Regions from separate parts of the Homo sapiens genome. Here all the other regions are linked to region 5. Evidence: promoter capture Hi-C in 16 types of primary human blood cells and fetal thymus (Javierre and others, 2016). All regions are on one chromosome and are shown on one strand. Each heading gives the region's core, a stretch centred on a gene start or on the middle of the fragment in contact. The rest is flanking DNA. Distances are from core to core; before and after follow the strand shown.

Region 1 (2,700 bases), core at 124-2,623, 380 kb after region 5:
TTTCACTTAGCATGATGTCCTCAAGGTTCACCCATATCGTAGCACCTGTCAGAATTTCCTTTCTTTTTAAAAAATACTAAATAATCCACTGAACATAGGTACCACATTTTGTTCGTCCTTGTATTGCTTCCTGGAAAGACTTTTAAAAGAGACACAGTATTGGCTTAGTAGACAAGGTGATCTCCCTGGCCCCCTACTTGCCCCACACTTGGGAATATATAGTCGCTAACCTCATCACTCTCAGGAGGAGATGGTAGGGAGTGGAGGTTGTATTTATTTTCGGGAAAAAAAACAGACTCCCAGGTGGTGCTGATGAATCCATCTCTTCCTACCCTTTTGTGAATAGTTGAATCTGTGTTCAAGATTCCCAAGTTTTGCCTGAATTCTAGACGTGTAGAGCCAACTCTCTAGTGGTTTTCACCTCAGTTTCAATGTTAAGAACTGTACGAACTGCCACTCTACCCCTTTCCTTGGAAGAGAAGTGGACGGGAAACCTGGAGTCCAGGATTATATAAGCCAAGGAAGCTCAGAGTTTCAAGAAGGGAGAGGTGGTCAGTGTCTAATGATGAGAAGAGGGCAAACAGGATGAATATTGAGAAGCAGTTATTTGATTTGTCAGTAAGTAGAACATTGATCTGTGGACCTTCTTCTCATGCGTCCCCTAATGCACATACTCAAAAGCTTTGTATGTAATTTTTAGGGGAATTAATCTTGAAGCCCATCCCTACGTCTCGATTAAGACCTTCTGGCTTAAAGCAGTTTTAGTTTTAGTAGCTTTGGATGGAGCCAGGTGATGAGAGAGAATGGACAAAGTGGAAGGTGAGATGGGCGGGGCATGGTGGCTCACATCTGTAATCCTAGCACTTTGGGAGGCCAGGGAGGAGAATTGCTTGAGCCCAGGATCTCGTGACCAGCCTGGGTCTCAAAACAACAACAACAAAAAACCCAAAATTTACAACTTACCTACTTTGTCTTCATCACATTTATTTAAAAAGAAAGAGAAGGGGGAAATGGAGACAGTCTTACGACTTGTGGGAAAAGGGAAGGGCAGACACTGGTGATTTTCAGTAGGGAAGATTCAAGCACAGGCTGGGAAAAGATTGATTGGGGATGATGATGATTGGAGCATCATCCCTTGGAGAGGGTATACAATGGGATCATGACCCCAAGCTGAGGGACAAGAAAAAGAAGAAACTGGAGCAGATTTGAAGTAGACAAGAATAAAGTTGAATTGGTTAGCTAATATTTTGAGTGCCAAGAAAATAATTATTCACATATTAGCCAGGTGTGGCAGCACGAGCCTGTAGTCCCAGCTACTCGGGAGGCTGAGGCAGGAGAATTGCTTGAACCCGGGAGGCGGAGGTTGCGGTGAGCCAAGATTGCGCCACTGCACTCCAGCCTGGGTGACAGAGCGAGACTCCGTCTCAAAAAAGAAAATAATCATTCACATAATTTGTCAGCAGACCCAAAGTGGCTAAGGAAAATGATATGCAAGTTTCTCAAGGTTTTGAAAATTGTCTGCTTCACGTAACACTCTTTGTAATTTAGGGTGTATAAAATGGATAACAAAAGCGAAAGAGGGACTGCTTAAATCAGACTTTTTCATTTTTTTTTTCCACTTTATGTATTTAAAGAGCTTCTATGTCTTTAGACTCACCAGTACTTGATAGTATCAGTCTTAAAACTTTGTTTTGCTTCGCCAGTTTGATCAGTGGAACAAATTTTGGTTTTGTAATTTGCATTTTCGCAATTACTAATGAGGTTGAGAGGCAGGCTAGTGTAGCATTTAAGAGCTATGGACTCCCTGGGTTGGAATCCCATTTTGCCACTTAGTACTTACTGATACGGTAATTTACTTTTGCTCTCTGTGCCTCCCTTTCCTTACCTGTAAAGAGGGATGATACTAGTTCCTACTGTATACATTTGTAAGGATTACGGTGCTACAAACAGTGCCTAACATGCGAAAAGCTCTATTTTAAAATTATGTCTTATTTCATGTATTTATTAGTCACTTCTATTTCTTTTTGAGAAGTCTATCTTCATATCTGTTTTTCTACTTCTCCCTGAAGCTTCTGAATTTTGCCTAGAGGAGGACATATCTTTTTTGTGTGTGTGACAGAGTCTCGCTCTGTTGCCCAGGCTGCAGTACAGTGGTGCCATCTCGGCTCACTGCAAGCTCTGCCTCCCAGGTTCACGCCATTCTCCTGCCTCAGCCTCTCCAGGTAGCTGGGACTACAGGTGCCCGCCACCACGCCCGGCTAATTTTTTGTATTTTTAGTAGAGACGGGGTTTCGCCATGTTAGCCAGGATGGTCTTGATCTCCTGACCTCATGATCCGCCCGCCTCAGCCTCCCAAAGTGCTGGGATTACAAGCGTGAGCTACCGCGCCCAGCCAACATATCTTAACAAATCAGTTTTTGTGTGTGCTTTAGTCAAGTTTTTTTTTTTTTTTTGAGACAGGGTCTCGCTGTGTTGCCCAGGCTGGAGTGCAGTGGCCCCATTTCATCTCACTGCTACCTCCGCTTCCTGGGTTCAAGTGATTCTCCTGACTCAGCCTCCTCAGTAGCTGGGACTACAGGGGTGAGCCACCATGCCTGGCTAATTTTTTTTTTTTTTGTATTTTTAGTAGAGATGGGGTGTCACCACGTTGGCCAGGCTGGTTTTGAACTCCTGACCTCAAGTGATTCGCTTGCCTTTGGC
Region 2 (2,700 bases), core at 201-2,700, 510 kb after region 5:
GAAGTTAATTTTAGGCCGGGTGTGGTGGCTCAGGCCTGGAATCTCAGTACTTTGGAAGGCCAAGGTGGGCGGGTCACCTGAGGTCAAGAGTTCGAGACCAGCCTGGCCAACATGGTAAAACTCTGTCTCTACTAAAAATACAAAAATTAGCCAGGCGTGGTGGCATGCACTTGTAATCCCAGCTACTTAAGAGGCCGAGGCAGGAGAATCACTTGAACCCGGAAGGCAGAGGCTGCAGTGAGCTAAGATCATGCCACTGCACTCCAGCCTGGGTGACAGAGACTCCGTCTCAAAAAAAAAAAAAAAAAAACTTAATTGTGCTGTCATAATCACTCAGGAATAATAATGCTGCAAAGATGTTATGGGACTGAAGAAACAATGTAAAGAAAGGAGGTGGCCGGGCGCGGTGGCTCACGCCTGTAATCCCAGCACTTTGGGAGGCTGAGGCGGGCAGATCACAAGGTCAGGAGATCTAGACCATCCTTGCTAACACGGTGAAACTCCGTCTCTACTAAAAATACAAAAAATTAGCCGAGCGTGGTGGCGGGCACCTGTAGTCCTAGCTACATGGGAGGCTGAAGCAGGAGAATGGCGTGAACCCGGGAGGCGGAGCTTGCAGTGAGCCAAGATCACGCCACTGCACTCCAGCCTGGGCGACAGAGCGAGACTCCGTCTCAAAAAAAAAAAAAAAAAGGAGGTGAGGGTGGCCATCACAACTGAGGCACAGGTTCTACACGTGTGAAGTACACTTTGCCTTAAATTGTGTTCTCTCCCAGTTGCTCTCTTGATTTGAATATGGGTGATTGAGTCCAACTTGACCTCTGGAAAACTCATCACTCCAGGTGCACAATCATTAATCAGGTCTAAAGTAAATAGTTTGGAGAAATCCTAGTGTCAGGCATATCCTTGCTGGGGTTTTCTGGATGTACTCAGTGTCTTTTTTATAAGAAAAGCCAGCTTTCTTACAGACCGTTGATGCAACTCTCACGTTCAAAAAAAAAAAAAAGGAGGGGGGCGGGGGGCGGATGCTGTGGCTTACACCTGTAATCCCAGCACTTTGGGAGGCCGAGCGGGGGGCGGGGGGGGGGGGGTGGATCACCTGAGGTCAGGAGTTCGAGACCAACCTGTCCAACATAGCGAAACCCCGTCTCTACTAAAAAATATAAAAATTAGCTGGGCGTGGTGGCGGGTGCCTGTAGTCCCAGCTACTCAGGAGGCTGAGGCAGGAGAATCACTTGAACCTGGGACGTGGAGGTTGCAGTGAGCCGAGATCGCACCACTGCACTCCAGCCTGGGTGACAGCGAGACTGTCTTGTGGAAAAAAAAAAAAAAGTCAACCAATAAAATCTGTTAGCTTAGAATTAAAATGGAAAAATTGGTAAGTTTAGGATTGCATCGTTACCTGGATAGGTGGATGCAACCCAAAGTGGTTGGTTGGTGTTGTTGGCTTTTCAGTTGCTTCCTTGTATTTACCGTTTTCTTTTCTTTTCTTTTCTTTCTTTCTTTTTTTTTTTTTTTTTTTTTTGAGACAGAGTTTCACTCTTGTTGCCCAAGCTGGAGTGCAATGGCGTGACTTTGACTCACTGCAACCTCTGCCTCCCAGGTTCAAGCGATTCTCCTGCCTCAGCCTCCTGAGTAGCTGGGATTACAGGCATGCGCCACCATGCCCAGCTAATATTTGTATTTTTAGTAGAGACGGGGTTTCATCACGTTGGTCAGGCTGGTCTCGAACTCCCGACCTCAGGTGATCCGCCCGCCTCGGCCTCCCAAAGTGCTGGGATTATAGGCGTGAGCCACCGCGCCCAGCCAATATTTACTCTTTTCTTTAATATTTTATACATTCAGATTTTGAACATATACACATTCAAGGAATATTATCTTGCCCAACTCTGGTTACTTTTCTTTGTATTTTGTTTGAATTAATTTTCATTGAAAATGACTGGATTCTTTGCTGTTGCAGTGCTCCTGTACACTTGAACTTGGTTTCCTTTTCCTCATGGTACTAAGTCAAAGATAGCAAGGGCTGCAGTGGCCCTTAAGAAAGGACTGGAGGCCAGGCGCGGTGGCTCACGCCTGTAATCTCAGCACTTTGAGAGGCCGAGGCAGGTGGATCACCTGAGGTCAGGAGTTCGAGACCAGCCTGGCCAACATGGTGAAACCCTGTCTCTACTAAAAAAAAAAAAAAGGTTTTTGCGAAACTTTAAAAATACAGAGAAATGGCTGGGCTCAGTGGCTCACGCCTGTAATCCCAGCACTGTAGGAGGCTGAGGTGGGCGGATCACGAGGTCAGGAGTTCGAGACCAGCCTGGCCAACATGGCAAAAATCCGTCTCTACTAAAAATACAAAAATTAGTCGGGCATGGTAGCATATGCCTGTAATCCCAGCTATTTGGGAGGCTGGGCAAGCTAATGGCTTCAACCCAGGAGGCAGAGGTTGCACTGAACCGAGATCCAGCCACTGCACTCCAGCCTGGGCGACATTTCCCCCATCCTCCATTCCATTCCCTTCCCCTACACCAGAAGCAAGCACCATCATGATTCAATGTGTATCCTTCAAGCACAGTTTTTAATGGTGCCCAGCTTTGCTGACAGATGGCCCATTCAGGATGCCACATCAACCCTAAGATAGGGACTTCACAGGGAAAACTGGAAGTGGCGTTTCTCCAGCAAAGGACCAAGAGGATCTTACTTAGTGAATTC
Region 3 (2,700 bases), core at 33-2,532, 410 kb after region 5:
TCTTCATTTTAGAAGTGAGTTTTAATCAGGATCCTGGTGCAGTCCATGTGTATGTCTTTTAAGTCTCTTTGAAACTAGCTTTCTTCTTTTTTACTTCCCTTGCAATTTATTTGTTGAAGAAACTGGATTGTTTGTTGCCTTGGTGTCTGTCAATAGTTTTGATACAGAAGGTTTTTTTTTTTTTTAATTTTACTAGAGCATATCTCAAGTGGTGGTGTGCTTTTCCTTGAGGAGGAATACCTAGTTGTCTCTCTTTTTATAATGTTAGCTAGAGGTTTTTAATTGTAATCTGATATTTTAGTCTTACATTTTTAGCAGTTGTCATATTCCTTTTGTTATTTTGTGTAGGCTGGAAGGAAATAAAAACAGGCATTCACATCATCTTTGAAGACGTACCATATTAATAATTCCATTGAACTAATCTTCTCTCATTAACTTAATCGTTGTTTTTTTTTTTTTTTTTTTTGGAGACAGAGTCTCACTCTGTCACCCAGACTGGAGTGCAGTGGCGCGATCCCAGCTCACTGCATCCTCCACTTCCTGGATTCAAGCAATTCTCCTGCCTCAGCCTCCCAAGTAGCTGGGATTACAGGCATGCGCCACCACGCCCAGCTAATTTTGTATATTTAGTAGAGATGGGGTTTCACCATGTTAGCCAGGCTGATCTTGAACTCCCGACCTCAGGTAATCTACCTGCCTGGGTCTCCCAAAGTGCTGGGATTATAGGCGTGAGCCACCGTGCCCGGTCAGCTTAATCGTTCTTCTGCTGTTTGACGTTAAGTTCGTTTCAGTTTATTTTCTAATAAACACTGATCAGCAACTTAGTGCATTTGCTGCTGCTATAACAGAACACCACAGACTGGGTAATTTATAAAGAACAGAATTTTATTTGGCTTATGATTCTGGAGGTTGGGAAGTACAAGAGGCATGGTGCCAGCTTAACCGTGAGTTTTGGGGGGGACATTCGAACCATAGCAGTAACTTTACTCATAAAACTTTTCCCATATTGCTTAGCAGCATCCCTGGTCTCTACTCACTAAATGCCATTAGTACCCTGCCCTTCCCCAAGCATGATAACCATGTTGTATTACAATACCATTTTAGAGGTTTTAAAAAAATGTATTTTAGAGTTTTTAATTGGGTGTCTTCTAAATTGAAATAGTGTATCATTTATTTTTCTTTTTTGGAATTTAACTCTACCCTATAAAAAAAATACCAGGCTAACTATATTTTCAGATCTCACTTGAATCATTCTGTGCTTAGCTACGTTGCTTTTGATGAATTTGAATATAGTTAACCTGGTGACAATTTATGAAGTGGTGACTAAATATGTGTTGTTTTCATGTCACTTAATTTTTTTCTAGGCCAGTTGGACAAATGCGAGTAAAAAGCAACGTGAAAAGCTACTTGAGCTGATACGTCGTCTTGCAGAAGATGATAAAGATGGTGTGATGGCACACAAAGTGTTGAACCTTCTGTGGAATCTGGCTCACAGTGATGATGTGCCTGTAGATATCATGGACCTGGCTCTCAGTGCCCACATAAAAATACTAGATTACAGTTGCTCCCAGGTAAGAGTGTACTGCTTTGCTCACTTTTTGTGACTTTTCCCCTTCAGTTAGGTTGGCTTAGTTACAGGATAGTTCTGTTACTCTGACATTGTTAGTTTTTAAATGATCTTCCGGAGTTGACTTTTTTTGTTCATTAGTCTGCTTTCCTTAGGATCTGTACATCAAGGTTTTGTGACTCATCTGAAAAGCATTTTAGTCTCCTTGGGAGAAAGTATAAACAGAACAGATTATACAGTGGTGGCATTATCAAGTGTATGGTTCTGAAATGCCGTTTCGAATAGAATTCGAATGTTAAAGCTGATAGGGACTTCAGAGGGAAGAGAAATTAGGTTTTCTTTGCTCATAGGGAAGTTAAGAAAAATTAATAGAATTTCCTAACCATTAAAACATTTAGTGCCTCCACAGTGAGCAAATCACACAGTTTCCCTACATTCTAATTTGTGGCATGTGTATTTTTTAACACATGGTAAAGTGAACATTGCTGAGTAATTTCTCACATGTTAATAAAACTATTTGTTACACTGATGAACTGGTATTTAGGTAAGAGCCAAGAAAAGCTCAGGAAGGTGTATTAATGTAGATACTACTCAGGTTTTGACTATGTTTACTTGTGACAGTTCGGTAAGTATTTATTCAGCAAATTAAATAGTAATAAGGGCCTTGAGTATAAATTATTTCATTAAACCAAGGGTCCTTCTGAGGAGTCTTGAAATCAGAGCAGTACATTTGCTATCAGGGCTTTTAACTAGTAACTTCTTTTTTAAATATCTATTAGTATCAGTGCCTGGCATAGTGATGTACACATTCATTCATGAATAGTTACTGAGTTTCACTGAATTTAGTAGACTGTTGCCTTTTTTCAACTTCAACTTTCATTTATTGTTTGGGAAAAAATTTTTAAAAGTCATTTTCCAACTGTCACCTTTTCCCTTCTGCTTGCCAAAACTGTTGTCAAAGTGTACATTTGATCATAAATGTTTTCATGGCCTTAAAAATGTACACACTATTAAACCCAACAATTCTACTTAGAGAAATTTCTTCTCGGAAATAGTGAAAAAGGATACAAAGAGGTACCCACAAGGACATTCATTAGTGTTTATGGACATGAACATGTGGAAGCCTCCTGAAT
Region 4 (2,700 bases), core at 10-2,509, 260 kb after region 5:
TTCTCTTTTTTTTTTTTTTTTGAGACAGGCTCTCGCTCTGTCACCGAAGCTGAAGTGCAGTGGTGATCACAGCTCACTGCAGCCTGGACCTCCTGGGCTTCAGGGTCAAGCAATCCTCCCACCTCAGCTCCCTGAGTAGCTGGGACCACAAACATGCTCCACCATGTCCGGCTAATTTTTTAATTTTTTGTAGAGACCTGGGTCCTCCTATGTTGCCCAGGCTGGTCTCAACTCCTGGGCTCAAGTGATCCTCCAGGCCTCCCAAAGTGCTGGGATTACGAGCATGAGCCACTGCACCAGGCCTTTCCTAGTCTTTTTTTTTTTCCAGAGTTTCGCCTCTGTTGCCCAGGCTGGAGCGCAATGGCACAATCTCAGCTCACTGCAAACTCCGCCTCCCGGGTCCAGGTGATTCTCCTGCCTCAGCCTCCTGAGTAGCTGGGATTACAGGCGCTTGACACCATGCCTGGCTAACTTTTTGTATTTTTAGTAGAGACGGAGTTTCGCCATGTTGGCCAGGCTGGTCTGACCTCAGGTGATCCGCCCGCCTCCGCCTCCCAAAGTGCTGGGATTACAGGTGTGAGCCACTGCACCAGGCCTCTTCTAGTCTTTTGATCAAAATTATCTCCAATTCTGCCTAAGTGTCTGTGTTTTTCGTTAGAATATAGTTTTGGCTGTTGTCTCTGAGAACCAAAATAACAATGTCTTACGATAAAGAAAGCAGAGCATTTCTCCCTCTGGGCATATGTAGTCCAGAGCTGCTCTTTCAGCACCATGGTGGTTCCTGGGCTCCTCCTGTGTTATGAAATTGCCATCCCTGAGTGAAGCTTTGTCCACATGGTCCCAGATGGCTCATTACCACATCCCTCTTCCAACCAGCAAGAAGGGCAAAGAGGAAGCAGATAGCAAGCTCTGCTCCTTTAGGGACATGATCCAGAAGTTGCATACATAAGTTCTGCTCACATATAGTTGGCCAGAATGTAGTCACATGACCACATCTAGCTATAAGGGAGGCTGGGTAATGTAGTCTCTATTCTGGGAAGCCATTTTACCTTCTTAAATTCGGGGTTTCTATTGCTACCAAAAAATGAACAAAAAGGATTTGGGGGAACAAATAGCAATCTAGTCACAATCTCCCATTTTGAAACTTAGAAGTTTTCAATTTGGCTAAGAAAAAAAAAAATTCCCTCCTCCGGCAAGAGAAAAAAAAAAAGGAACTTCCCCCCTTTTCTCTTCCTTAACTTGGTAGCTCCCACAGAGGAATGGTTTTTAATGCTAAGCAATGAAAGCAAACGGAAAAAAGGCTGCTGGAATTTGGAGTATTTCTTTGTAATCAAGAATGCCTTGAGATATCAGGCTAGGACCTAAAGACCAACCTGAATTTTGTAATTGAACGTCTGTGTCTGCAGCAAAAGCACAGAACATTTTTAGATGCAGATAGTATCAGATCACCATCTGGACTATAAATAATTTATACATTTCAGATACCTGGGAATCACATGGGCCAGGAACAAATAAGGTACTAAATCTCAGTGAGAAAAAATATCTCCAAACATTGTATCTGTGAATCCAATTTAAAGTCGAATGATGGTTTGGAGAATTGAATAAAAATACAGGAAAGATCTCTATTGCTTACGTAAAATTGAATTCGCATTATTTTTTATTTTAAAAAATATACAAAGGAAAGGCTGAACAAATTAAGCTTAATTCTCCACAATCCAGTCATGGGGTGGGTGGGTTGGGGGCAACTAGAATTGATTCCATATCCAATCCCCTGTCTTTGGGTTCTAGAGGTAAGACGCTTATCAGATCCTCTCCAAGTAGTGACTTTGCACATTGGGCCGCAACTTTGTAAAACATGATCACTCTTTTGACTATTTTTGAGAGAGCTTGCTGAGGCATCTGACTGAGTACACTTAGAGAATGACAAAACATGGCAGAAAGAGAGTCTGGAGGCTGATTCCGGGTTGGCAGTGGGAGGATGAAACAGAACACTGGGCTGCCCCAAATCCAATGGATGGGGCACGGACAGGGGCCAGGGTTCAGTTGGGCATTGCCAGAAAGTCACAACAGATGTTCTTTCAGAGTGGAGCCAGGAGCCTGAAACCTACAAATGAACTCGGTTAGGAGCTGGCAAGATAACTTGCCCACTGACCTTCACCAAGTACTTGTCGGTGGCCTTGCTCAGCCTTTACAGGCCCAGCCATCCACCTGCCAACCTCTCTCTGGACAGTGCCTTAAAGGCTGCACAGAGGAAGTTTCAGCATTGTACTCTCTGGAATGGAGTCTAGTGAGGTGGTTGGGCATGTTTCTGTGTTTTTGAGAAATGGGTGATCACGTGAGGTCCCTCTGAATTGGAATACGTGTGAACACAAATAAGTGTCTTTAATCACTTAGAATTTTTGTTTTATATTTATTCAAAGAATTCTTTTAGACTTATCTAGACATTTGTTTTTCTCATATATCACTTTTGGACATACCTTAAAAAAGAAAATTTAAGTTGGTTAAAGTATTCCTAAAACTTCTTTACATTCAGAACCCAGCTTTTCTGAATCAACTTTTAAAAATTGAGATGCAACATTGTGTGTGTGTGTGTGTGTGTGTGTGTAATTTTTTTTTTTTTTTTGAGACAGGGTCTCACTCTGTCACCCAGTCTGCAGTGCAGTGACACAACCATGGCTTACTGCAGCCTCGACCTCCTGG
Region 5 (2,700 bases), core at 190-2,689:
GCACATACATGAAACTTTCTCATGGATATTCTTGGATTTTTATGAAATCCAACAATAAATGGTGCAGAGAGGTATATCATTATAATAGTCCCTAAACCTGACAGCGATTTAAATTTCTCATTAGCCATGGGTAGGCTTCTTTAACACTACTTTTTTCTGTCCCATTCAAAAAAGTACAATACATCAAAACTGAGAATGACGTTTTACAGGAGTTAAGTAGAGCCTACTCTTTCAGTCATCTGCAAACAAGTATCTGTTATCAGTCTCTAAAAACAAATTACTGTGACGCTTTAGAGCCTAATATCTGCATACTAATGTATCTCAATTGATAACCCTGATCTGAAGTCTTGCAATAGATAAAAAATAAAATTCTGATTAACTTTTTCTGAACCTGGGTTATAAGATGTACAACAGAGTCCCAAAATGTTACGGTGCCTTTTCTTCACACACTGAAATTCGTTAGTATATTCTGATCCTATTCTGAAGGGATTAACAACTTAATCATGCCCCAAGGCATTTCATGGGTAACTAGGTGATTTATAAACCCCCTTCATACTCCAAGAAATAACAGACTACTTACAAAAAAATTTTACTCACACTAACTTCATTAAGACCTCAAACACTCAAAAGTTCCAGAAAAAAAGTACTTTGAATTCAAATTTGTATTTTATACACAACGTATGTAGCTCCTGCATTAACTTAGAAGCAATAACAGCTTACATTTAAAACGTATCGTCAAGAGGCTGTAATACAAATTTCCCATCTATAGAGTTTTTTCTAAAAGCTCGAATATTATGTATTCCAGCCAAGAAATCAAGAGAGTTCTGTTGGGAACTCGGACAAAAATTTCACACAATTTTCAGTGGAAGTGTAACAACACGCAAAATTAACAAGTCTCTGTTGCATCGTTGCCAGGAAGACCCCAGATACAAAGCTTCTTCTCCACCTCTGCTGAACCCCAGGAGTTCAAAAATTCTAGACTAAGCAGTCCAGCGGAGAACACAGCAGCCTCTCGGGGAGAGGGAGGTGCAAACGTCTCAGCCGGTTGGGCGGGAAGGGGGGCTGGGGAACAGGCAGGGGTTTCGGGGCACTTACAGGTCCGTCAACACCATAAGCTCCGAGTAGGCCCGGTGCAGCAGAAATTCAATGAGGGTGCTCAGCCGGTAGCCCGGGCTAGCCGCAGCTGCAGCGGCCGCCGCCACGGCGGCTCCCGGGGGAGGAGGGGCTGGGGCTGACGGGGGTCCGCCGCTGCCCCCGCCGCCGCCTCCGGGCGGGACCAGCTGGTGGTTCTCCAGCTGCACTGGGGCCATGGCGGCGCAGGACCGGGCTTGGCGCAACGGCACACGATGCGGTCCTCGAGCCTCCCGGGCGCTCGGTCACCGCGCCGAAACGGGAGCGGGCAGAGTCGCCACCGCCTACCGCCGGGCCGCCTCAGAACAGGAAGCCGTGCGCCGACCGCGGAAGCCCGCCCCCATGTAGCGAGAAGTCCGCCGACCCCAGGGACAGGAGCGAGGGGCGGGGGGAGGCGGGGATGGGGGGGAAGCAGGGCGGCCCCGCAGAGGGGAAGCTGCGCCTCCGCAAACGCTCAGAAGCAGCTTCGCCAGACAGCCGCAACGTACATGTTGACTGCCCGAGGCGGAAGTCGATCGGCAGAGCGGAAGGGGGACCTGCAGAGGACCTTCCGACAGGTCTGTGTCTGTTCTCTCAGCTGTCTAGCACCGCAGCGCTGGGGGGCGCGTGGGAGTGAGGCGGTACCTGTGAGCGCGCGGGAGAGCGGAAAAGGGAGCCGCGCGCCGCCGGAAACCAGGGTGAGGGCTGAGCCGGAGTCGTCACCGGGAACGTCAGCAGTTGCCCCGCCCTTACCCTCGCCGCTCTCCCTCCCGCCTCCGCCCCCTGGCGTTGTAAAGGCGACAATTTGCCCAGAGAAATCCACCATCGCTTCCTAAGTGGGGCACAAACACAGCCAGGGGAGGCCTCCTCTAAATGTTCGTGAATTCTGGTTCTGGAATCGCGAAGAAATGGGAGCGGCCGCGCGCTTGTGATTCTCAGGCCTTTGCTCCTCCCATACACGTCCACGGCGCGTTACGTGGGAGAACGTTTTCGCCCCTTTTTTTTTTTTTCCAAACTGTGGGAAAAGGTGCTAGAAAATATGATTGCGGGTAGAGACAGGGCCGCTGGCAGAGTAACTCAATTTTAATAGAGTCGGGTGTATGCTGAGGTCGTCACCATCCCCCAAATCCTGTCAGTCCCACACAAAAACGGCCCTTAAATCCCCTGCCACGGGCTCTCATATAGTTTTTGTCCTTGCTCTTGCAGTCACCGCTCTATTCTGAAGGGCTTTTCAGTTCATCCATGCCTACCGACACTCCCGTCCCCCCCATCAAAGTCCACGTTTAATTTTTTGTACCTGCTTTAAAACAGCGATTCTCAACCTTGGCTGCACTTTGCAATTATCTGAGGAGCTGTTTTTTAAAAAAATACTTAGATATATGGGTTCCACCCCTGTAGATTCAGATTTAATTGGTCTGGCTTGAGGTCTGGGCTTGGGGAATTTTTGAACTTTCCTAAGGTGATTCTAACATGCCCTAACGTAGAGATTCACTATTAGAAGCATTCGTTGCTGCGACCCCTTTCAAACATCTTTTTGCAGTTTCATCTCCTCTTGGTGTAAGAGATGTTCATGATGTTCCCTAAGGTTAG

What was found. The method cuts DNA at HindIII sites, captures the fragments that hold promoters and counts their contacts. A CHiCAGO score of 5 or more calls a contact.
Region 1: a contact is called between a fragment that was not itself captured here and the fragment with the promoter of MED14 in region 5, in 15 of 17 cell types (naive CD8 T cells, total CD8 T cells, naive CD4 T cells and 12 more). The highest score is 13.0, in naive CD8 T cells.
Region 2: a fragment that was not itself captured here is called in contact with the fragment with the promoter of MED14 in region 5 in 2 of 17 cell types (neutrophils and erythroblasts); the score reaches 5.3 in neutrophils.
Region 3: a contact is called between a fragment that was not itself captured here and the fragment with the promoter of MED14 in region 5, in 4 of 17 cell types (neutrophils, naive CD8 T cells, total CD4 T cells and 1 more). The highest score is 7.8, in neutrophils.
Region 4: a contact is called between a fragment that was not itself captured here and the fragment with the promoter of MED14 in region 5, in 2 of 17 cell types (M2 macrophages and M1 macrophages). The highest score is 5.4, in M2 macrophages.

The regions. Positions count from the first base shown.
Region 1 is chrX:41,118,404-41,121,103 of GRCh38, forward strand. All of the region lies in intron 1 of USP9X (ubiquitin specific peptidase 9 X-linked), which reads left to right. Among named protein-coding and RNA genes, the nearest start is that of USP9X, 34 kb to the left of the region's middle. The HindIII fragment of the contact is 1,388 bases long and covers 680-2,067 here.
Region 2 is chrX:41,242,467-41,245,166 of GRCh38, forward strand. No RefSeq gene overlaps it. Among named protein-coding and RNA genes, the nearest start is that of LINC02601, 32 kb to the right of the region's middle. The HindIII fragment of the contact is 3,284 bases long and covers 1-2,700 here.
Region 3 is chrX:41,147,005-41,149,704 of GRCh38, forward strand. USP9X (ubiquitin specific peptidase 9 X-linked) reads left to right here. Exons shown (of 45, transcript NM_001039591.3): 12 at 1,365-1,571. Among named protein-coding and RNA genes, the nearest start is that of USP9X, 63 kb to the left of the region's middle. The HindIII fragment of the contact is 4,811 bases long and covers 1-2,700 here.
Region 4 is chrX:40,996,159-40,998,858 of GRCh38, forward strand. No RefSeq gene overlaps it. Among named protein-coding and RNA genes, the nearest start is that of USP9X, 88 kb to the right of the region's middle. RefSeq lists an enhancer at 858-1,152 and a silencer at 917-976. The HindIII fragment of the contact is 875 bases long and covers 823-1,697 here.
Region 5 is chrX:40,734,103-40,736,802 of GRCh38, forward strand. It overlaps MED14 (mediator complex subunit 14), which reads right to left and starts at 1,440. Exons shown (of 31, transcript NM_004229.4): 1 at 1,096-1,440. The coding sequence starts at 1,310. It overlaps MED14OS (MED14 opposite strand), which reads left to right and starts at 1,588. Exons shown (of 2, transcript NR_169211.1): 1 at 1,588-1,688. RefSeq lists enhancers at 810-1,731, 1,732-2,652 and silencers at 1,048-1,427, 1,688-1,777. The HindIII fragment of the contact is 3,630 bases long and covers 933-2,700 here.